7 separate regions of the Homo sapiens genome follow, and regions 1, 2, 3, 4, 5 and 6 are each linked to region 7. Evidence: promoter capture Hi-C in 16 types of primary human blood cells and fetal thymus (Javierre and others, 2016). All regions are on one chromosome and are shown on one strand. Each heading gives the region's core, a stretch centred on a gene start or on the middle of the fragment in contact. The rest is flanking DNA. Distances are from core to core; before and after follow the strand shown. Region 1 has its middle 150 kb from the start of TANK-AS1. Region 2 has its middle 100 kb from the start of TANK-AS1. Region 3 has its middle 220 kb from the start of TANK-AS1. Region 4 has its middle 160 kb from the start of TANK-AS1. Region 5 has its middle 200 kb from the start of TANK-AS1. Region 6 has its middle 120 kb from the start of TANK-AS1. Region 7 holds the start of PLA2R1 (phospholipase A2 receptor 1).

Region 1 (2,992 bases), core at 152-2,651, 950 kb before region 7:
AATTAATGTTGAGTAGATTTAAAAATTTCTCCCAGTGTCTTTCTATTAAGCCAATATTTGGCTTAATAGAAAATAGATTATCATATCTGTTTCTGCATTCAAACTCTTGTGATATGCTGTTTCGGTTGAAGCATATAAAGATAGTCTGGCCTCATACAGATGTGCAGTTGGAAAATAGAAAAATATTTAATAGCATTTTCAGATACTGTCCATATTCTCCTCAATACTATCCCAAAACTCAACAAGTGGTAGTTTCTTTTTTTTTTTTTTAATTACACTTTAAGTTCTGGGATACATGTGCAGAACTTGCAGGTTTTTTACATAGGTATACACGTGCCATGGTGGTTTGCTGCACCCATCAACCCATCATCTACATTAGGTATTTCTCCTAATGCTATCCTTCCCCTAGCTCCTCATCCCCCAACAGGGCCTGGTACATGATGTTCCTCTCCCTGTGCCCATGTGTTCTCATAGTTCAACTCCCACTTATGAGTGAGAACATGAGATGTTTGGTTTTCTGTTCTTGTGTTAGTTTGCTGAGAATGATGGTTTCCAGCATCATCCATGTCCTTGCAAAGGACATGAACTCATCCTTTTTTATAGCTGCATAGTATTCCATGGTTTATACGTGCCACATTTTTTTTAATCCAGTCTATCATTGATGGCATTTGGGTTCGTTCCAAGTCTTTGCTATTGTGAAGAGTGCTGCAATAAACATACGTGTGCATGTGTCTTTATACTAGAATGATTTATAATCCTTTCAGTATATAACCAGTTGTGGGATTGCTGGGTCAAATGGTATTTCTAGCTCTAGATCCTTGAGGAATCACCACACTGTTTTCCACAATGGTTGAACTAATTTACACTCCCACCAACAGTGTAAAACTGTTTCTATTTTTCCACATCCTCTCCATCATCTGTTGCTTCCTGACTTTTCAATGATCGCCATTCTAACTAGTGTGAGATGGTATCTCATTGTGGTTTTGATTTGCATTTCTCTAATGACCAGTGATGATGAGCTTTTTTTCATGTTTGTTGGCTGCATAAATGTCTTCTTTTGAAAAATGTCTGTTCATATCTTTCGACCAGTTTTTGATGGGGTCGTTTGTTTTTTTTCTTGTAAATTTCTTTAAGTTCTTTGTAGACTCTCGATATTAGCCGTTTGTCAGATGGATAGATTGCAAAAATTTTTTCCGATTCTGTAGGTTGCCTTTTCACACGGATGATAGTTTCTTTTGCTGCGCAGCTCTTTAGTTTAATTAGATCTTATTTGTCAATTTTGGTTTTTGTTGCCATTGCTTTTGGTGTTTTAGTCATGAAGTCTTTGCCCATGCCTATGTCCTGAATGGTATCGCCTAGGTTTTCTTTTAGGGTTTTTATGGTTTCAGGTGTTAAGTTTAAGTCTTTAATCCATCTTGAGTTAATTTTTGTAGAAGGTGTAAGGAAGGGATCTAGTTTCAGCTTTCTGCATATGGCTAGTGAGTTTTCCCAGCACCATTTATTAAATAGGGAATCCTTTCCCTGTTCCTTGTTTTTCTCAGGTTTGTCAAAGATCAGATGGTTGTAGATGTGTGGCATTATTTCTGAGGCCTCTGTTCTGTTCCGTTGGTCTATATCTCTGTTTTGGTACCAGTACCATGCTGTTTTGGTTACTGTAGCTTTGTAGTATGGTTTGAAGTCAGATAGCATGATGCCTCCAGCTTTGTTCTTTTTGCTTAGGAATGTCTTGGCTATGTGAGCTCTATTTTGGTTCCATATGAAATTTAAAGTAGTTTTTCCAATTCTGTGAAGAAAGTCAATGGTAGCTTGATGGGAATAGCATTGAACCTATAAATTACTTTGGGCAGTATCACCATTTTCCCAATATTGATTCTTCCTATCTATGAGCATGGAATGTTTTTCCACTTGTTTGTGTCCCTCTCTTATTTCCTTAAGCAGTGGTTTGTAGTTCTCCTTAAAGAGGTCCTTCACATCGCTTGTAAGTTGGATTCCTAGGTATTTTATTCTCTTTGTAGCAGTTGTGAATGGGAGTTCACTCATGATTTGGCTTTCTGTTTGTCTGTTATTGGTGTATAGGGATGCTTGTGATTTTTGCACATTGATTTTATATCCTGAGACTTTGCTGAAGTTGCTTATCAGCTGAAGGAGATTTTGGGCTGAGACGATGGGGTTTTCTAAATATACAATCTGTCATCTGCAAACAGAGTCAATTTGACTTCCTCTTTTCCTAATTGAGTACCCTTTATTTCTTTCTCTTGCCTGATTGCCCTGGCCAGAACTTCCAATACTATGTTGAATAGGAGTGGTGAGAAAAGACATCTTGTCTTGTGCCTGTTTTCAAAGGGAATACTTCCAGCTTTTGCCCATTCAGTATGATATTGGAGATGGGTTTGTCATAAATGGCTCTTATTATTTTGAGATATGTACCATCAATACCTAGTTTATTGAGAGTTTTTAACAGGAAGGGCTGTTGAATTTTGTCAAATGCCTTTTTCTGCATCTGTTGAGATAATCATGTGGTTTTTATTGTTGGTTCTGTTTATGTGATGGATTACATTTATTGATTTGTGTATATTGGACCAGCCTTGCATCCCAGGGATGAAGCCAACTTGATCGTGGTGGATAAACTTTTTGATGTGCTGGTGGATTTGGTTTGCCAGTATTTTATTGAGGATTTTTGCATCGATGTCCATCAGGGATATTGGCTGAAATTTTTTTTTTGTTGTGTCTCTGCCAGGCTTTGGTATCAGGATGATGCTGGCCTTTTAAAATGAGTTAGGGAAGAGTCCCTCTCTTTCTATTGTTTGGAATAGTTTCAGAAGGAATGGTACCAGCTCCTCTTTGTACCTCTGGTAGAATTCGGCTGTGAATCCGTCTGGTCCCGGACTTTTTTTGATTGGTAGGCTATTAATTGCTTCCTCAATTTCAGAACTTGTTATTGTTCTATTCAGAGATTCAACTTCTTCATGATTTAGTCTTGGGAGGGTGTATG
Region 2 (3,005 bases), core at 192-2,691, 990 kb before region 7:
AGTCAGTAACATTTTTTAAGCCTTTACTATGATCTAGGCACTCTTAAGTATTTTCTATAGGCCTAGAATTCTATGACATTCTGTATATATTGTTGCCATTTTACTGTTATGGAAATTGAGGCTCATCAAGGTAAAGTAACTCCCCCAAAGTCACATAATCAATATGAAGCAGAGCTTGGCTTGAACCTAGGTCTGCTGGACTGCAAAGTCTGCAACTACTCCATGGAACAGAAAGAGAAATTCCTGCAACGGGATCATGATTAGATAGATTATTTATACCATAAAGGACCTTTTTTTCATATATACACACAGAATGCCTCTAAATAGTGAAATCTATTAGTAAGTTTCAAATGTCTGATTTTGAAAAGATCAAGGTATGCTACTTTACAGCAAAGTGCATTATTGCATAAAGCAAGCTACAACTTGCAACTTTTGTATGTCTGTTTTCTTGGCAATGTTCAATAATGTTGTATTCTTCACTTAATTACTTCCTGTTTTTTTTAGGTTGCTTTATCCTTAATTTCTCCACATTATCATATTAATTACGCTTTTCAAATGTGATAATACCTTTTCATATATTCTCAAGGAAATGCTCTTTTTACCACTGGGCTATTTTGCTCTAGAAACAGAGATAACAAGCTGGGCACAGTGGTTCACGCCTGTAATCCCAGCACTTTGGGAGGCTGAGGCAGGTGAATTACCTGAGGTTAGGAGTTTGAGACCAGCCTAACCAACATGGAGAAACCTTGTTTCTATTAAAAATACAAAATCAGCTGGGAGTGGTGGTGCATGCCTGTAATTCCAGCTACTCGGGAGGCAGAGACAGGAGAATCGCTTGAACCCAGGATGCGGAGGTTGTGGTGAGCCGAGATCGCACCATTGCACTCCAGCCTGGGCAACAAGAGTGAAACTCCATCTCAAAAAAAAAAAAAAAACCCCACAAAAATAGAGATAACACAACTAATCTTCAATTCAAGAAGAGGCTTTGGATACTGGGAAGAAAAAGCAGCAACTCCAAAATAATGTTACCACCAACTCTTGCCCTCCTCCTCTACTTCACAGCAGCCTCCTCTGCTGGTGGCATTGCTGGCAAGAGCTTCTGCTGGCCCCCGCCCCACTGTGAAGCCTAATTGTGTTAAGCCCATTAATGATCCATTTGTTTCTTCTCCTCCTGCTTCCACAAAAGGAAATGTATTATTCATGGATAACCTTTCTCCCCTCTCCCTTTGTGTTTTAGCAATACTCTAGACCATCTGAATTTCATATTGTTGCACAGACTGTGATATTGGCTGTTTCAGTGTCTCTGTTGTGAAATTACTCCATTGTCATCAGACATTAACAGGGTTCAAGTAAACATTTGGGTAGCAGCTCCTTGTTTCACTTAGAACTCCAGCCATCCTTCCTAATGGCTCTCAACTGGCCCACTTCAGCAGAAAGTTGGTCGAATCTCCATTCTATTCTCTTGGGGAGACGCCACTTGCTTCTTGTGTATCTAACAAATATCCTACCAGCTACTGAAACCTCCTCTGGAGGTACAGGAGTTGTGATCACATTTTTTCTCCATGTTATCTTTGATCATCAACACCAACAAAATAAAGCTGTGTCCTAAGAGCTATAGCTCTATCTTTAATTGGTTGGGCCTATTCTACAGCACTTCAGGACCAGGGTCTTTGGGGGATAGGACTCTGTGCTTTTGTATACCAATAAAACCCTGTTTAAAGTGGTTGCTCTGACAAACATATGAAAAGAGCTCAACATCACTGATCATTAGAGAAATGCAAATCAAAACTATAGTGAGATACCATCTCATGCCAGTGGAACGGAAATTATTAAAAAGTCAAGAAACAGATGCTGGTGAGACTGTGAAGTAATAGGAATGCTTTCACACTGTTGGTGGGAGTTTAAATTAGTTCAACCATTGTGAAAGACAGTGTGGCAATTCCTCAAGGATCTAGAACCAGAAATACCATTTGACCCAGCAATCCCATTATTGGGTATATACCCAAAGGAATATAAATCATTCTATTATAAAGATACATGGACACATATGTTCATTGCAGTACTATTCACAATAGCAAAGACATGGAATCAACCCAAATGCCCATCAGTGATAGACTGGATAAAGAAAATGTGTTACTTATTCACCATGGAATACTATGCAGCCACAAAAAGGAATGAGATCATGTCTTTTGCAGAAACATGGATGTTAGAAGCAGATAATCGGTGTCACCAAGAAAAGTCAGCATGGAGACAAAGGATCTCTCAGCAAGGCAACCTTTACTTTCTGCAGAAAGGGTGCTGCTTGCCAGCAGTCTTGCCACGAGAGCACACTGAACAAAGAGGATAAAAATATTTATATCTGACACATCCGTACCCTACTGCTGTGTCCTGATTCCATTGGCTGGAATTGGACCTCACAGTCTAGGCTGCTCCCGATTGGCTAAAGGTTTAAAACTTTTCCTAAAGAGATAATGGCAGAGAAGAACAAAGGAAAGGAGGAAGTTTCTTATGAAAAGACTTAGAAAAGTAATAACATTCCCAAATAAGGAAGGGGCATAGGCTGCGAGCTGGGACATGCTTGTGAGCACATCTAGCACAGATATCTTGGTTAAAGTACAAGGTCATAGAATGTACTATGTGCCTGTGAGCATGTCTAGCATAAAGTTAGTCTTTAAAAGAAACTATTATTTCTAACACTTATGACTTATTCTTTAACAAGAAGAGAAACAGTAAAAAGGAACTTTTACTTTCTGCAAAGAAGAAGCTGGAAGCCATTATCCTCAGCAAACTAATACAGGGACAGAACACCAAAACCGCACATTCTCACTTATAAGCAGGAGCTGAACAATGAGAACGCATAGACACAGGGAGGGGAAAAATACACACTGGGGCCTGTTGTAGGGGCTGGGGGGAGAGGAAGAGTATTACAATAAATAGCTAATTCATGCAGGGCTTAATACCTAGGTGATGGGTTGATAGGTGCAGCAAGCCACCATGGCACATGT
Region 3 (3,287 bases), core at 96-2,595, 880 kb before region 7:
GGAAGAAACATTACCGTATCTGACATGGTATATGTGATTGTGGATGCCATTTGGTTATGTTAACTTTGGTCCACTATCATTCATGATGATCCTTCTAGTTTTTGCAAGGGCCAAATAGGTGAATTGAATGAGGCTATCCCTTCATCCTTCAAGTCTTTGGTGGTGGTGCTAATTTCTGCAATTTCTCTTGAGATGTAGGATTGCAGTTTGGGGAACTTCCCATGTCTCTTCCAAACCCACAGTGGCTCTTATTTCAGTGGCCAAGGAACCAATCTTGATTGTACTGAGGGACTGGGCAAATAACCACACAGGTGGCCTGCGGCCCCATTGGACGACTATGAGATGGACATGGGCCAGGATTCTATTCATCACCTGGCTTCTACATGCCTCTTTCTAATGAAGGGTCACAATAGCATTTTCAATTCCTTGCTTTTAGAGCCAACTCAGACTCTGAGTCTAAAAGTCCTTGCATGGTCTGGGTATTTTTGTTTCCCCAGTGTATATCTGATATTCTGGTAAATAGCTTCAAGTTCCTTTGGGAAAGGATCAGGAGATATTTATTTTAAATTTTTGCAGTGGTGTTGCAGGATATTGCCAAATGGACCTAGTCTCTTTGATAGTCACTGAGCTCTGGATCAGAGACTGAGCTCTGTGTCTGGGAACTGACTTAGATCTAGTAAATGGGTGAGAGAGTGTGATTTCCCATTGGGGCGACAGACACCAGTTTTTTGCTTTCCAGATCTCTCCTGCTGGCTCTATAGATGAAGTGAAACTCTAGTTGGCTGCCCATCTGTCTTGCTCCCATGATTTATTAACAACTGCTACCGATTCCTATGGGTCAAAGCTCTCAGGTCATCACTCTGGCCTCACTGTTTATTTCAGAAATTATGACCACCCTATTTCTGTGAAGACAAATTAGCCTCTCCTATTTGAGAATCCTATCAATTCCATTGATACCAGGGAGACTGGTTCTAACATAGCACTTCCCACTGTCAACAACACAACCAAGCTTCTCCACAATGGTGGTGCTCCCCTCACTCTGCATTCTTCATTGACTGATTGTAGGAGTGTTCTTTGGACTCCCTCAGGCAACAGAGTCAGGTGGTGGGTACTTTGATGTAACACAGTAAACCCATTCCAACATTTCCACCTCCCTGAGCCCTTCAAGCCCTTCCCCAAAACCCTGCCAAGGCCTGACTTACCTAATTACTTTGATAAGGACAAAGCTATAAGGAACAATTTTAGCAGTGTATTAGGACCAGTTCTATGTGTCTTTGCTAAGATGTTGAACCCCATGTCACGGGAGAGTGTTCTAACATCAATACATTCTCCCTTCTCCAGCCTTATGTGCTAACCTTGTGTTGGGTACTCTAAGATCTACTCCTACACCTGTTCCCCTGGCTTCTCCTGGGTGCATTAACCAGGTCTTAAAATTCTCTGGTTGTACTACTTTCTTCCAAAGCCAGGATCATATACACTTCACAATGGTGCTGTGGCCTAAACATTCCTATCATTATAGCTCTCATTCTATAGGATAGGAAACAATGGAGGGAATCTGCTAATTGTTTAGTATGTATGCTTACAGATTAGATAAATAACTTTCTGTTGGGTCCAGTGTGGAGACAGTGAGGGTAGATGGGAGCAGAACATGACAGGGAGGAGAGTATCTTATGAAGCTTCTTCCTCCGATGAGGTTTTTGCAGTTTCTAGGTCAAGGTTTCTCAACAATGGGACCATTGACATTTGGACTAGATAATTCTTTGTTGTGAGGGGCTATGCTGTACTTATAGGACATTAACAGCATCCTACAATGACCTCTACCTATTAGGTGCCAATAGTACCTCCCTCTCTCAGTGGTGATAACTGTATCTCCCCAGTGTGGACCACTGATTAAATGTTAGAAGAGGGCTCTCTTCCTGCAGCCAGCCTCCTGCAGATGTCTCTTGGGTGATGGCAGAGTTCTCAGGGTGCAGCCGAGGTGAGCTATCATCAGGCTATTCCTGTGCACATCTGGTAGTTATAGCAATAGCTAGAGAAAAAAGGTGGGCTAAGAAGATGTGAGCCAGGGCATAAAATGTCTGTGACACAGAGGTATGTAACACCCACTTCAATTCACAGACGGGAACACTAAGGCTCAGGAAGGTTAAACAACGTAAGTCGAAGCACTGTGCATAAATATATGTAAGACATAATACCTCCCTTTGAGAAATTTTCAGTCCAGCAAATTGTGAAGTATTATATAATAAATAATTGCATGTAAGTGTTGATAAGGTCATACGACCATCAAGTGACAAAGATAAAAATAGAATGAGGTCTATTTGGCTTCCAAATCTGTATTCATTTTAGTGTACAGATATGCCTCAGGATTTCTTATGTATACTGCATACTAGAATTTTTGTTAAATTATTTGCATGCCCGTTATCATTGAACATTTGTAGGGATCTAAATAGTGGGCATTCTCACCCCCCATTTGTCAGATAAGGAAGTGGCCCTTTCTTGTACACCGTCTTATGCCCTAGATGCATTACGCTTAAAGAAGACATTGCTTTGTAGAGAAGGGTGACCTCACACTGATAAAATCAATGTGGACAAGTATGGAAATGCAGGCACAGGATAATGCAATATATTGCTAGAAACAGGAGAACCCAGTGACCAATTCCATTAACTCCATCTTCATCCTTCCACAGTGTGACTAATTAAGATATGGTCTGGTACTGAATAGCTCAACTCCTTTTAAGAGTAGCTTGTGAAACTGTGGAAACTATCTAAAAATATATAACTAATGTGAGACAAATAATGTTGTTACAAGGGAATTGATAACCAAGGATAATGGGAAAAGCAAGAAATAGCAAGTTGGAGCTAATTAGCAGGGAATGCCCCCTGACACTGAGAGTGGCGAGCCAGGATAACGGTCTCCTGAGGGGAGTGGCAGAATCACCATCAGTTAGTACATTTAAAAATAGGCAACAGAGCGCTAGAAACAGAGCTATTGGGAATAATCTTGCATTAGGCAGGAAAGGAGGTAATTGACTAAGTGACCTAATATTAAGAGCTTTCTTTCTCATGAATTTCTAGAATTCTAAAAAAATATATAAAACCTTATAGGCTGTATACAGAAATGTAGGTACCTAATGACTGGAGATGCCTAAATATAGCCTCAAATTATTCATAAATGCAAAATGAGAGCAGCCGTGCCCCAGATGGAGCATAATACGAGGGTCAGAGGAAATGTAGGAGACGGACAGGGAAAGCTGAAGCACTGTTAGGAATCAGATTTCTCTGATGCT
Region 4 (3,127 bases), core at 257-2,756, 940 kb before region 7:
TTTGAAAACTGGCACAAGACAGAGATGCCCTCTCTCACCACTCCTATTCAACATAGTGTTGGAAGTTCTGGCCAGGGCAATTAGGCAGGAGAAGGAAATAAAGGGTATTCAATTAGGAAAAGAGAAAGTCAAATTGTCCCTGTTTGCAGACGACATGATTGTATATCTAGAAAACCCCATTGTCTCAGCCCAAAATCTCCTTAAGCTGATAAGCAACTTCAGCAAAGTCTCAGGATACAAAATCAATGTGCAAAAATCACAAGCATTCTTATACACCAATAACAGACAAACAGAGAGCCAAATCATGAGTGAACTCCCATTCACAGTTGCTTCAAAGAGAATAAAATACCTAGGAATCCAACTTACAAGGGATATGAAGGACCTCTTCAAGGAGAACTACAAACCGCTGCTCAATGAAATAAAAGAGGATACAAACAAATGGAAGAACATTCCATGCTCATGGGTAGGAAGAATCAATATCATGAAAATGGCCATACGGCCCAAGGTAATTTATAGATTCAATGCCATCCCCATCAAGCTACCAATGACTTTCTTCACAGAATTGGAAAAAACTACTTTAAAGTTCATATGGAACCAAAAAGGAGCCCGCATCGCCAAGTCAATCCTAAGCCAAAAGAACAAAGCTGGAGGCATCACCCTACCTGACTTCAAACTATACTACAAGGCTATAGTAACCAAAAGAGCATGGTACTGGTACCAAAACAGAGATATAGATCAATGGAACAGAACAGAGCCCTCAGAAATAACGCTGCATATCTACAACTATCTGATCTTTGACAAACCTGAGAAAAACAAGCAATGGGGAAAGGATTCCCTATTTAATAAATGGTGCTGGGAAAACTGGCTAGCCATATGTAGAAAGCTGAAACTGGATCCCTTCCTTACACCTTATACAAAAATTAATTCAAGATGGATTAAAGACTTAAATGTTAGACCTAAAACCATAAAAACCATAGAAGAAAACCTAGGCAATACCATTCAGGACCTAGGCATGGGCAAGGACTTCATGTCTAAAACACCAAAAGCAATGGCAACAAAAGCCAAAATTGACAAATGGGATCTAATTAAACTAAAGAGCTTCTGCGCAGCAAAAGAAACTACCATCAGAGTGAACAGACACCTACAAAATGGGAGAAAATTTTCGCAACCTGCTCATCTGACAAAGGGCTAATATCCAGAATCTACAATGAACTCAAACAAATTTACAAGAAAAAAACAAAAAACCCCATCAAAAAGTGGGCAAAGGATATGAACAGACACTTCTCAAAAGAAGACATTTATGCAGCCAAAAGACACATGAAAAGATGGTCATCATCACTGGCCATCAGAGAAATGCAAATCAAAACCACAATGATATACCATCTCACACCAGTTAGAATGGCAATCATTAAAAAGTCAGAAAACAACAGGTGCTGGAGAGGATGTGGAGAAATAGGAACACTTTTACACTGTTGGTGGGACTGTAAACTAGTTCAACCATTGTGGAAATCAGTGTGGCGATTTCTCAGGGATCTAGAACTAGAAATACCATTTGACCCAGCCATCCCATTACTGGGTATATACCCAAAGGACCATAAATCATGCTGCTATAAAGACACATGCACACATATGTTTATTGCGGCACTATTCACAATAGCAAAGACTTGGAACCAACTCAAATGTCCAACAATGATAGATTTGATTAAGAAAATGTGGCACATATACACCATGGAATACTATGCAGCCATAAAAAATGATGAGTTCATGTCCTTTGTAGGGACATGGATGAAATTGGAAATCATCATTCTCAGTAAACTATTGCAAGGGCGAAAAACCAAACACCGCATGTTCTCACTCATAGATGGGAATTGAACAATGAGAACACATGGACACAGGAAGGGGAACATCACACTCTGGGGACTGTTTTGGGGTGGGGGGAGGGGGGAGGGATAGCATTAGGAGATATACCTAATGCTAAATGACAAGTTAATGGATGCAGCACACCAGCATGGCACATGTATACATATGTAACTAACCTGCACATTGTGCACATGTACCCTAAAACTTAAAGTATAATAATAATAAAAATATTAAAAAAGACAAATAATTAAATAATTTAAATATTTTTTAAAAAACAGAAATAGACAAATTTGCCACTGTTTTCAAGTTTTCTTTTCTTTTTTCTTCCTTTTTTTTTTTTTGAGATGGAGTCTCACTCTGTCACCCAGGCTGGAGTGCAGTGGCACAGTCTCTGCTCACTGCAACCTCCACCTCCCAGGTTCAAAAGATTGTATATGCCTCAGCCACCTGAGTAGCTGGCATTACAGATGCATGCCACCACGCCTGGCTAATTTTTGTGTTTTTAGTAGAGACAGGGTTTCACCATGTTGGCCAGGCTGGTCTTGAACCCCTGGCTTCAAGTCATCTGCCTGTCTCAGCCTCCCAAAGTGCTGGAATTACAAGCATGAGCCACTGCCCCTGGCTTTTTTCAAGTTTCTAAATATTAACTTTTTATGGAGAGACTGTTTAACTCTGTCATGAAAACTATTTCACCTCTGTACAATGTAGAAGTAACCTGTAAACAAATCACTAATGGTATTCTTGTTTAACATTTAAAATAAGTTTTCTCTAAAATGGATAATCCTATAACAATAGTATCAATGACTATTTCTAAGCCTTCCCATGCAAGGTGCTATGCAAAATGCTTCATATGAATTATCTAATAGATCTGCATGAGGACAAATATTGAACTTCTATTAAAAATAAAGACATTGAAAACCAAAGTGTTTAGAATGCTGATAAGGCAAAATGATTTACTTTGTGCAGTTACCTTAGATAGAAAAAAATACCACAAAATAGCCAAATAAAATAAATGCAAATGGAAAGACACACACAGCTCACTACAGAGAGCACTGGTTATCAGCATCTTTCACTTAGTTCCATGAAGATATTTTTATTGACTGTCACGCATGGCTTAATGACAGGGATGGGTTCTAAGAGATGTGTTGTTTGGCAATTTCGTCATTGTGTGAACATCATAGAGTGTGCTTAACACAAGCATAGATGGTGTAGTCTGTTACACACCTAGGCTATATGGCACAACCTATTGCTCCTAGGCCACAAACCA
Region 5 (2,867 bases), core at 279-2,778, 900 kb before region 7:
ATTCATAAATAAGAGCACCAAAATACCACAGTAACCATGGTGGAAGCTACATTGACCTTTTGGCTGATTTTCATAATCATTTTATATCCTTGTCTGTGTCTCCTAGTGGTTTATAAGCATATGGTTTCTTAGACATGTATAAATTAAGATTAGTTTATTTTAATATTTTTGGTTCCAGAAATATGCTAAACTTGTGACAAATTTACTTCGTAATGCACCAAATCTTCTTTTCGATTTTATATATGCTTCTAATGCTTTTTAAATGAGAGGCAGAATGTGGTATAGTGGTTAAAGGCTTAGGATCTGATATGAGATCCACATTCAAATCTTGGCTTCACCATTTGGCAACTATGAGACCTTAGGGGGTTTCTTAACTTCTTTGTACCTGACTTTTCTCATCTATAAAGTGAGAATAATAATTAATCATCACATAGGGCTATTGTGAGGATTAAGGGCATTATTTTTATAAAACAAATAGAACAGTGCCTGGAGGATACTACTAACTACATGAACTATTAATCAGTATTTTCAAAAGGAAATATTATAACAAAGCGGATTTACTGGAAAAAATGCCAAAACATGTCTTGTTTTATACCACACTCTCGATTGACAGAAGTCTCAGAAAGTGAAATTTTAGCTCCAGAATACTATGATTTCAGCAGATGAATAGTGTGGGCATCAAATGTATAGTTTTAATGAATGTGAACCTCAAAGAGAGGAGCTGTAAATCTAAATGGCAATACAGGGGAGAATTGCCCATCTCAACAGGTGAGCATCTAAAGGTGAGCTTCATCCTACTATAAAGGGAGAGGAGTGGCTTTGGGGCAAAATTCCCATCAGAGTACCTTGCTTAAATAAACCCTATTATTTCATTTTCTCAGTTCAGACTTGGCCTCCCCTTACCCAGAGCAAAAATGACATAAAAATTATATATCTAGGAAAACCAAAATTTAAAAATCGTTGGCCTTACAATGCCTACTCCTGATTCAGAATGGTAAGATTAGGGAAAGTGTCATTGAAACTGGGTTATTCCATCTGCTGATGCCAAGTATGTTTAGAGAGCTTTAACCTGGCTTGATTATTGATAATGGGACCTGAGCGGGGGAGCTTCCAAACCAAAACGTTAGCATTGTTGCATAATAAATATCCAGAAAGGAAGTTGAGATCATCACAGTTAGGAAAAGCTTGCTGATGTAAGCTTTAGAGAGAAACAGGTCAACTGGAATTTCTTTTGGAAAGAATTGTCTTCAGAGCTTTAGAAATGCTATTAGATGGTCATTTTTTTCAATGCTCCCAAATTTGCTTAAAGAAATTAGGAACTCACAGATTGACCTAGCTAATGTTTATGAAACACTTCTGAGTGCTGAGCCCTGTGTTATACACCTTATATGTTATTTTGTGTAATCCTTTTGTAATCTTAATTAATACTTTCCACTTTAAAGCTGAGGAAGCTGAGTTTCAGACACATGGCTGATAAATAAGTAAAGCTGGGATTCAAACCCAGGTTGTCCAATTGAAGTCCATGTGCTGTTAGTCTTAAGCACTCTATTCTCTTCATGAGCTCACATAAAGTGTAAAAATGAGAGTTGATAGGTATCTATACAGCTTCATCATCAATTCTAAGACCTAAGAAATAATTATGCTGTGAGATTTCCATAGATATTAATAATAATGCCAACAATTGGACTAAACTTTACAACACTGGGAAATCATAGTTTCTTCTCACAATTACTAAGATCAATTTTCTTCTGTTGAAGAAGTGGGCAAATTGCACAGATAAAGCTAGTCCTGAATGGAATTGTTCCAGTAATATTAAGGCTCAATAGTAGCACCTGGAGAAATAGCACAGCAAAGCTTCTGCTGACGCTGGGCACTGCACTGACCTGATATTTGAAACTGTGAGCTTCACAGTCTGCTTAATAATTAAAGCAATTTATCTTCAGGTGAATCTAGGCCATTTTGTTATTTCAACATGAAATTCTTGGGGAATAGAGATGCCTATAGAGAATCTCTGTTGTGTAAACACTAATATGGAAAGTAAGTAGGTAACTCTTTGAAATGCTGTCAACTATACGGCCACTAGAACTTTGGCCACTATCGGAACTAATGCCACTACAACTGGCTGGAAAAGACTTAGACATTGGCAGCAAGGTAACTTACCAGAGGGTTGCCATCACCTTGCAGAACATACAGTGCAGATGAAAAAATGGTTATACAAGTCTTTATCCTGTTCCAAAGGCCAAATTATTAAGAAACAAATAAGATACAATGATGACTTCAAAGGCTAAAGAATTCTGAAATTATATGGGATGCCATTTGAAGACAGGTTTGTTCTGTCCAATTTGATAGACACTAGCCAGTAGCATGTTGGCTACTGGGCAATTGAAATGCAGCTAGTCCAAATTGAAATGATCTGCAAGTGTAAAATATATACCAGATTTGAAGACTCAGCATGGAAAAAGAATGTAAAATATCTCGATAATTTAAAAATATTGAGTGTGTGTTGAAATATTTTTTATATATTGGTTTAAATAAAATATATTAGTACATGTATTTTACCTGTTTCTTGTAGTTTTTTTAATGTGACTACTATAAAATTTAAATTGCATATGTAGCTCACATTGTATTTCTGTTGGGCAGTGACAGTAGGTACTCCACACCAGCAACAGGTGAGGAATGAAGATAGCTTTGTCCTGCATCATGGACAGTGAAGGACTCTGAAGGAGTCAGGTGGAATATTTTGGTGGCCTCATCATCTCTAGTGGAGTTTTAAAAATTTTATTAATTTCTGCTATTATCTTTATTACATCCTTTCTTCTACTTTGCATTTATTCTTTTCGTCTCCCAGTCTTCAGTGGAATTCTTAG
Region 6 (3,156 bases), core at 350-2,849, 980 kb before region 7:
AGCACTGAGTGGCACAGTGTGGTGTAAAGGACACAAGCTTTAGAGTCAAGACTTGGGTTTGCATCCAAGCTCTCTTACTAGTTTTATGATCTTGGTAAAATTACTTCACCTTTATGAGCTTCCATACTGACATCTGTGAACATAGGTGGTTGCAATGATTACAGAAGAATGAAGAGGTGAAATGCCTGCACAGTGCATATTCCTTTTAGATAGGAGGTGCTCTACTTCCCTCCTACTTTGCACACTGGCATCCCATGGAACAGACTGACAGTCTTTACTCTTTAGAGAGTTTGCAATCTAAATGAGGAATATGTAAAAAGGAATAATTATAACATTACGATTTGGCAAGAGCCATCCTGGTCTTATTAAAAAATGAGTCTGTGGATAGTTTGAGTGAAAACAGTGAGTAAAAACCAGGGTTCAAGAAGAGATTCTAAACAAAACATGATTGGCAGCCAACCTTAACTTCTGATACTGGAGCTGCCTTTGCCAGTGCTTTCTTCATCAATGCCTAAGTTGTAGTGAGACCACAAAAGCGAAATCTCTCATACCTGCTTGCTGATCAAGGGGATTATGTTCAGTTATATGTGAGTTGTACTAGATTAAGTATTAGTAAAGAGTTTCTTTTCTCAACTTCTCCTAAATAGATTAAGTGGTTTATTAATGTGCTTTTAATTCCATTATCTTTAACATTTTTCATTCAAAATGTATGTAATAGATTGGGAGTGCTGGGGGATGTACCCAGCCCCCACAGGCAGATTTGTTACCACCCCATCTGCCATCCCAAATGCTAAATCCCAGGAACACCACTGCTTTGCAGTATGTTCTATTTTATAAGACTTTGAGGAAAGAGAAACACAGAAAGACAGTGACAATCACTGCAGGGTTAGAGAGACAGAGAGCATAAGGTTAGAGCTAAAACTTCTAAAAAGCAAATGGAGTGTTGGAAAAAAGGAACAGAGGGAAGAATTGAATACATTTACCAGGGAATTAATGAATAGGCTAAAGGTATTTATGCAGGCAGAGAGCATATGGAAAAGGGGGAAATGAATCATGGAAGAAGGCAGCAAGTCTTATCACACGAGTTTTTTCATCTTGAGAAGTGTGTGTGTGTGTGTGTGTCTGTACACAAGCTAACGTGTGTGTGTGATTGGAAGGAGAAACAGTTACTAAGTCCAGTCCATACCACAGGAGAGAGGAAAAAAGTATCTACCATGAGGTTGTCATGATGGTTAATGTGTTCTGAAGTGTTACATCTGAGCTATACCTTGTAGAGGACTTCTGTAGTAACTATAAAGAGAAAGCCATAGAGCAAGGGGAAGGGCTGTGGAGAGCTGAGATCTGGATGAATACGGTAAGCTTCTCCACTTGCTGGCACTTTTATTGCCCCCTCCTCCTTCCTGGTTTCAAGACTTGCTGTCATACCAAGTGATTGGTTTTGCCAGGGCCCTTACAGGTATTGGTGTCTCCTGTAAGAATGACTGTAGAGAAATGGGAGGCTTGGAGAGATTGGGGGATTTTGAAAGACTATGGGTTTGAAAACTTCTGCAACTTGGGGCTGTAGAAATAGGGAGGGGAAGACAAACTTATTCCTAAGTGTTTCTGATGAAGAATATCTTGGCCGGATGTGGTGTCTCATGCCTATAATCCTAACCCTTTGGGAGGCTGAGGAGGGTGAACACCTTCACCTCAGGTGTTTGAGACCAGTCTGGGCAGCATAGCAAAACCGCATCTACAAAAAGTACAAAAATCAGCTAGGTGTGGTGGTGCATGCCTGTAGTGTCAGCAACTCGGGAGGCTGAGGCAGGAGGATCGCTTGAGCTCAGGAGGTTAAGCTTTCAGTGAGCCAAGATTGCACCACTGCACTCCAGCCTGGGCAACAGAGCGAGACCCTGCCCCCCTACCCCTCCAAACACACACACACACAGAATATCTTGCCTCATTAAATATAATTGTAACATTGGGGACAGGGTTCAGGAGAGTATGTGGTACAAGTGAGCGTGGGAAGCAATTAAGCACATGGGAGGAGCCTGAGAATAATGCAGACAAAAAAATGTCAAATAGGACTCAGAGCAGTTGAAAAAAATGGCTGAACCTGGATGATATAAGAAAAGGCTCTAAGAAGGTGGGTGTTTCTGAGGCCAGAGGATGGCCAGCAATGGAACTGCCCTGCCAGTCTACAGTGGAGCCACCTGAAGTGAGAGCTGAGCGGCCAGCACAAGGCCAGGAGTCATGGCAGTGACATCTGTCCTAAACCCATGGGCTAGGCTTGGGTTGTGCCTGCAGGGACAGGGCCTGGAATTGAGTTCTCCCGCAGGGTGATCTCTATACAGATGTCTGACTGAGGCCTGTGTACTGGCACTATGCTCCCTGCTCAAAGCTCGTATGTGGAAATTATAATCCAGCAGATTATTTTTGAAATCTTGAAAAATCTCCTGATCATAATAAGTTCCTAGCTAAAAACCTCCAGATAGACAGGAAAGCACAATTTCAAAAAAGAGCTTACATCTAAGGAAGTAAAAAAAGGTAATTTTATAAAATCAAAAATGTAAATGCATTTAATAACCTCAAAGAGATAAAGAGGTGAAAGTATCTATACATAGACATATAGATAGCTATATAGATATATAAAAATATGATGTTATAAATCAAGAATGGGTTATTATGAAAAAGAACCACTTAGAAATAATGGCAATAAAAAATAAGGTTGTTGATATAACAAGACTCGACATAGTGAACTAGACATAACTTAGACATAACTGAAGAGTCAATTAGTGAATCATAAAATTGTGTTGAAATATTAATTTTATCTGATATTAATTGAGTAATTATTTTGTGCCCAACATTATTCTAAGCATTTAATATGTATAATTTCATTTAATCCTTGCAAGAATGATATAAAGTAGGTTCTCTTTTCATTCCCAATTTATTGATTAGGAAATTAAGGCCAAGAGGATAAGTAATTTGCCAAAAGTCACACAACTAGTCTTAAATCTAAAAAGAGCCCTTGTGTTTAACCATCGCACTATAACACTAACTCCCAAGATTTCTCAAGATGCAGCACAAATAATTAAAGAGATAGAAACTAAAGGAGGAAAAGTTAAGAGGGGATAAATTCCAGAGATAATGAATAAAAATCTGTATTTTAACAAATCC
Region 7 (2,957 bases), core at 441-2,940:
CAAGCAGTTCTCACTCCAACCTTTGTATAATTTTTTTTTTCACAATTTCTTCCCATCCTAGAACAGCCTCTTCCTCCCAATACCCACCATACTATCTGAGCATAGTTAGGCCTCTATGCCCACTCCAGCCTAGTCTCTCTCCCCTTTACTCTCACTGCCCTGGACCTCACCAGAGATTAGCATCAGTGTCCTGTTTTATGACCTAATTATGTCATGTGCATTGCACTTGCCTGCTGCAATACATGCCAGCCTGCTCGGGCAGGGCCAAATCTTCTATCATAATACTACGGGGATATTCCCATAGCAATGTAGTTCTGAGGCCATAGGAGAGATGGATACATAGTTTGTGGCTGAAGTCTGTGTAATCTACTAGGCTTAAAGCATCTCTTTTCTGCATGTTTTCAAGCAAGGATGCTGAATTCTACATGTAATGATATGTTATAAACTCTACACACATTGGAACCTCTCACATCCTCTCAACCCACCTCTTATTCCAGCCCCCTCTGCAGCCTGTTTCCCCCGGCTGTCCCCCACCCCCCAACCCTCTGAGAAACAACCTGACAGCGCCTCACCTTTTGCCATGCTATGCACCCAGGGCTTCTAAGAGACAAGGTATGGGACCATGACTGAAACTCACCACTGCTGTAGAACAGTGCAGAGGAGTTAATAACCCTAGGATCTCCCTTACCAACAGGGAAGGATAAAGTCCATGGATAAACGCTTGCCCCTTTTGTCCTCGACAGACAGTTCTGAGGCTCTCTGAGGTTCCTGCAGGACTGAGCACCTTTTGTTAAGGCCATGGCCAAGGCAACCACTTTCCCTTCTTCCCCATTTGGCTCTGACCTTCAATCTTGCTCCCTGCTAGGCATTTCCTTCCAGGCTCTGCTTTCTGCCCCTCCCCTCCCCCTCTCTTATGTTTTAATGACTAATGTCAAGGTCCCGCTGAGGAAAGGTCTTATATGAGCCTGTTCTCAGAATATTAAACGCTTCCAGTGTTCTGCTGGTTATTTGAAGGAGGACAGTTAGAACGACTACATTCTAGCCAGGGCTGTCCTACTTGCTAGAGAGTAACTTTTGCTGGATTAGGAAGTAACCTAGAGCAAAGCACTTCGACTTTCTGGGCAGGGTTTCTCAGCTGTAAAAATGGGATAATAGGGACCCCGGCTACTTTGCGGGGCTTGGGGGATCAAAGGAGTTGGAAAGAGGAGGTTATTTCAAAACCGAAGGAGCTGAATAGAAGAATCTCCGGGTTACTCTGGGGCAAGGAAGGTGGAGACCACGGCGTGGCCCCTCAGGTGTCTCCAGTGCTCCACAAGTCAAAGGAGTCCAGGACCCTCCCAAAGCGCCTGCGTCGCGGAGCAGCTGGGTTCACTCTAGGCTGCCCGCTGCAAATCCGCGGTGTTTACCAGAATCCAGGTGGTTTGCAAACCCGGATGTCAGGCTCCTTGTCCCGGAGATTCTCAAATCGCTCACCCACAACTCCTCTTCGGCCTCCCCCAGAAAGGAGAGAGCAGGGCTGCAAGCTAGAGGAGCGGAGAGTGTGACCCGAGCAGCCTCACTCCGCCTGTCCCCACCCCAAAGGCAGGAATTTCTGGGATGGGCAGATGGCCCACCCCTCCTCCTCCTCCTTCCCCAAGCCGCAGTGGGTGGGGCGAGGAAAACCTCCGCGACTTTCCCGCATCCCAGCCCAGAGCCCCGAGTGTCGGTTCACTGTGGAGACAGCGGTGGCGGAGTGGGTCTCCAGGGCTCTGGGCTGGCAAGGCCCCCGGAGGGGGTGGGGCGCGGAGGAGGCTACGGATCCGCTTCCGCGCGGCGGGGCCGGGTGCTTGGGACGCGGCTCTGGGCTCCCGGGATAAGGGGCTCCCGGGACAAGGGGCTCCCGGAGAGCCCAGTGGTTAGCGATGCTGCTGTCGCCGTCGCTGCTGCTGCTGCTGCTGCTGGGGGCGCCGCGGGGCTGCGCCGAGGGTGTGGCGGCGGCGCTTACCCCCGAGCGGCTCCTGGAGTGGCAGGGTGAGTCTCCCAGGGTCGGGGACTGGATCGGTACGTTGGGGAGGGGGGTCGGGGTGGTCGAAGGAGAGGAAGAAGGGGCGAAGCTAGGGGCCAAGCTGGCGGGCAAGGGCGGCCGCGTTTGTAGGGGTTCGTGTGTCAGCAGTCCTGAGCATGGGGGGAGCGGGTGGTGTCCTGCAGCCTCTTGTCTAGGCCCAGCACCCCACTTGCGCGGCCCGGCACCCTCCTGGCTCCTGCGGGGGTCGGGCGGCGGGGGCGGGGGGGCTTGGTCTCGCAGGTAACTCCTCTCGGCTCTGGCGCCCGGAGCCAGCCCGGGATAGGAGTGTCGGAGAAGTTTCAAAACGGAAACTTTCTGAGAGCTGCTTATTTGGGACGGATAAATGATAGCAAAAAGATGGCTCAGTTCGTCCCCTTGCAAAGCAAGCGCTCAGGGTCTGCGTCGCCACCTAGGAGTGACCCCCAAGCCAGGCCTCCCCAGTCCATCCCTTCCTTAAGGAAAACTTTTTTTGTTTGTTTGTTTTTTGAGACAGGGTCTTGCTCTGTCGCCCAGGCTGTAGTGTAATGGCGGGATCTCGGCTCACTGCAGCCTCCGCCTCCCGGGGTCAAGCGATCCTCCCACCTCAGCCTCCCGAGTAGCTGGGACCACAGGTGTGCGCCCGCACGCCCAGCAAAATTTTTGTATTTTTGGTGGAGACGGAGTTTCACCATGTTGCCCAGGCTGGTCTCCAACTCCTGGGCCCAAGTGATCCGCCCACCTCGTCCTCCCAAAGTTCTGGGATTACAGGCCTGACCCACCGCACCCCGCCTGAAAACATCAGGCCAGGTGAGGGAGAGAAGCCCCAGTGGCTCCATGAACTGCGTGATCTGAAGCCTTTATGCCTTAGTCTCTCTCAGTGGAAAAACGGGGTTCAATTCAGCAAACACTTATTGAGCACCTACTACACATGAGA

The links. The method cuts DNA at HindIII sites, captures the fragments that hold promoters and counts their contacts. A CHiCAGO score of 5 or more calls a contact.
Region 1: a contact is called between a fragment that was not itself captured here and the fragment with the promoter of PLA2R1 in region 7, in 2 of 17 cell types (M2 macrophages and M1 macrophages). The highest score is 6.0, in M2 macrophages.
Region 2: a fragment that was not itself captured here is called in contact with the fragment with the promoter of PLA2R1 in region 7 in 1 of 17 cell types (M2 macrophages); the score reaches 5.2 in M2 macrophages.
Region 3: a contact is called between a fragment that was not itself captured here and the fragment with the promoter of PLA2R1 in region 7, in 1 of 17 cell types (M2 macrophages). The highest score is 6.6, in M2 macrophages.
Region 4: a contact is called between a fragment that was not itself captured here and the fragment with the promoter of PLA2R1 in region 7, in 1 of 17 cell types (M2 macrophages). The highest score is 6.6, in M2 macrophages.
Region 5: a contact is called between a fragment that was not itself captured here and the fragment with the promoter of PLA2R1 in region 7, in 2 of 17 cell types (M0 macrophages and M2 macrophages). The highest score is 5.4, in M0 macrophages.
Region 6: a contact is called between a fragment that was not itself captured here and the fragment with the promoter of PLA2R1 in region 7, in 1 of 17 cell types (M2 macrophages). The highest score is 5.1, in M2 macrophages.

Annotation. Positions count from the first base shown.
Region 1 is chr2:161,013,717-161,016,708 of GRCh38, reverse strand. No RefSeq gene overlaps it. Among named protein-coding and RNA genes, the nearest start is that of TANK-AS1, 150 kb to the left of the region's middle. The HindIII fragment of the contact is 6,228 bases long and covers 1-2,992 here.
Region 2 is chr2:161,055,948-161,058,952 of GRCh38, reverse strand. No RefSeq gene overlaps it. Among named protein-coding and RNA genes, the nearest start is that of TANK-AS1, 100 kb to the left of the region's middle. The HindIII fragment of the contact is 3,661 bases long and covers 1-3,005 here.
Region 3 is chr2:160,942,934-160,946,220 of GRCh38, reverse strand. No RefSeq gene overlaps it. Among named protein-coding and RNA genes, the nearest start is that of TANK-AS1, 220 kb to the left of the region's middle. The HindIII fragment of the contact is 667 bases long and covers 1,012-1,678 here.
Region 4 is chr2:160,996,460-160,999,586 of GRCh38, reverse strand. No RefSeq gene overlaps it. Among named protein-coding and RNA genes, the nearest start is that of TANK-AS1, 160 kb to the left of the region's middle. The HindIII fragment of the contact is 3,574 bases long and covers 1-3,127 here.
Region 5 is chr2:160,962,444-160,965,310 of GRCh38, reverse strand. No RefSeq gene overlaps it. Among named protein-coding and RNA genes, the nearest start is that of TANK-AS1, 200 kb to the left of the region's middle. The HindIII fragment of the contact is 656 bases long and covers 1,201-1,856 here.
Region 6 is chr2:161,039,476-161,042,631 of GRCh38, reverse strand. No RefSeq gene overlaps it. Among named protein-coding and RNA genes, the nearest start is that of TANK-AS1, 120 kb to the left of the region's middle. RefSeq lists an enhancer at 2,491-2,660. The HindIII fragment of the contact is 476 bases long and covers 1,362-1,837 here.
Region 7 is chr2:160,061,348-160,064,304 of GRCh38, reverse strand. It overlaps PLA2R1 (phospholipase A2 receptor 1), which reads left to right and starts at 1,690. Exons shown (of 30, transcript NM_007366.5): 1 at 1,690-2,010. The coding sequence starts at 1,902. The HindIII fragment of the contact is 10,793 bases long and covers 1-2,957 here.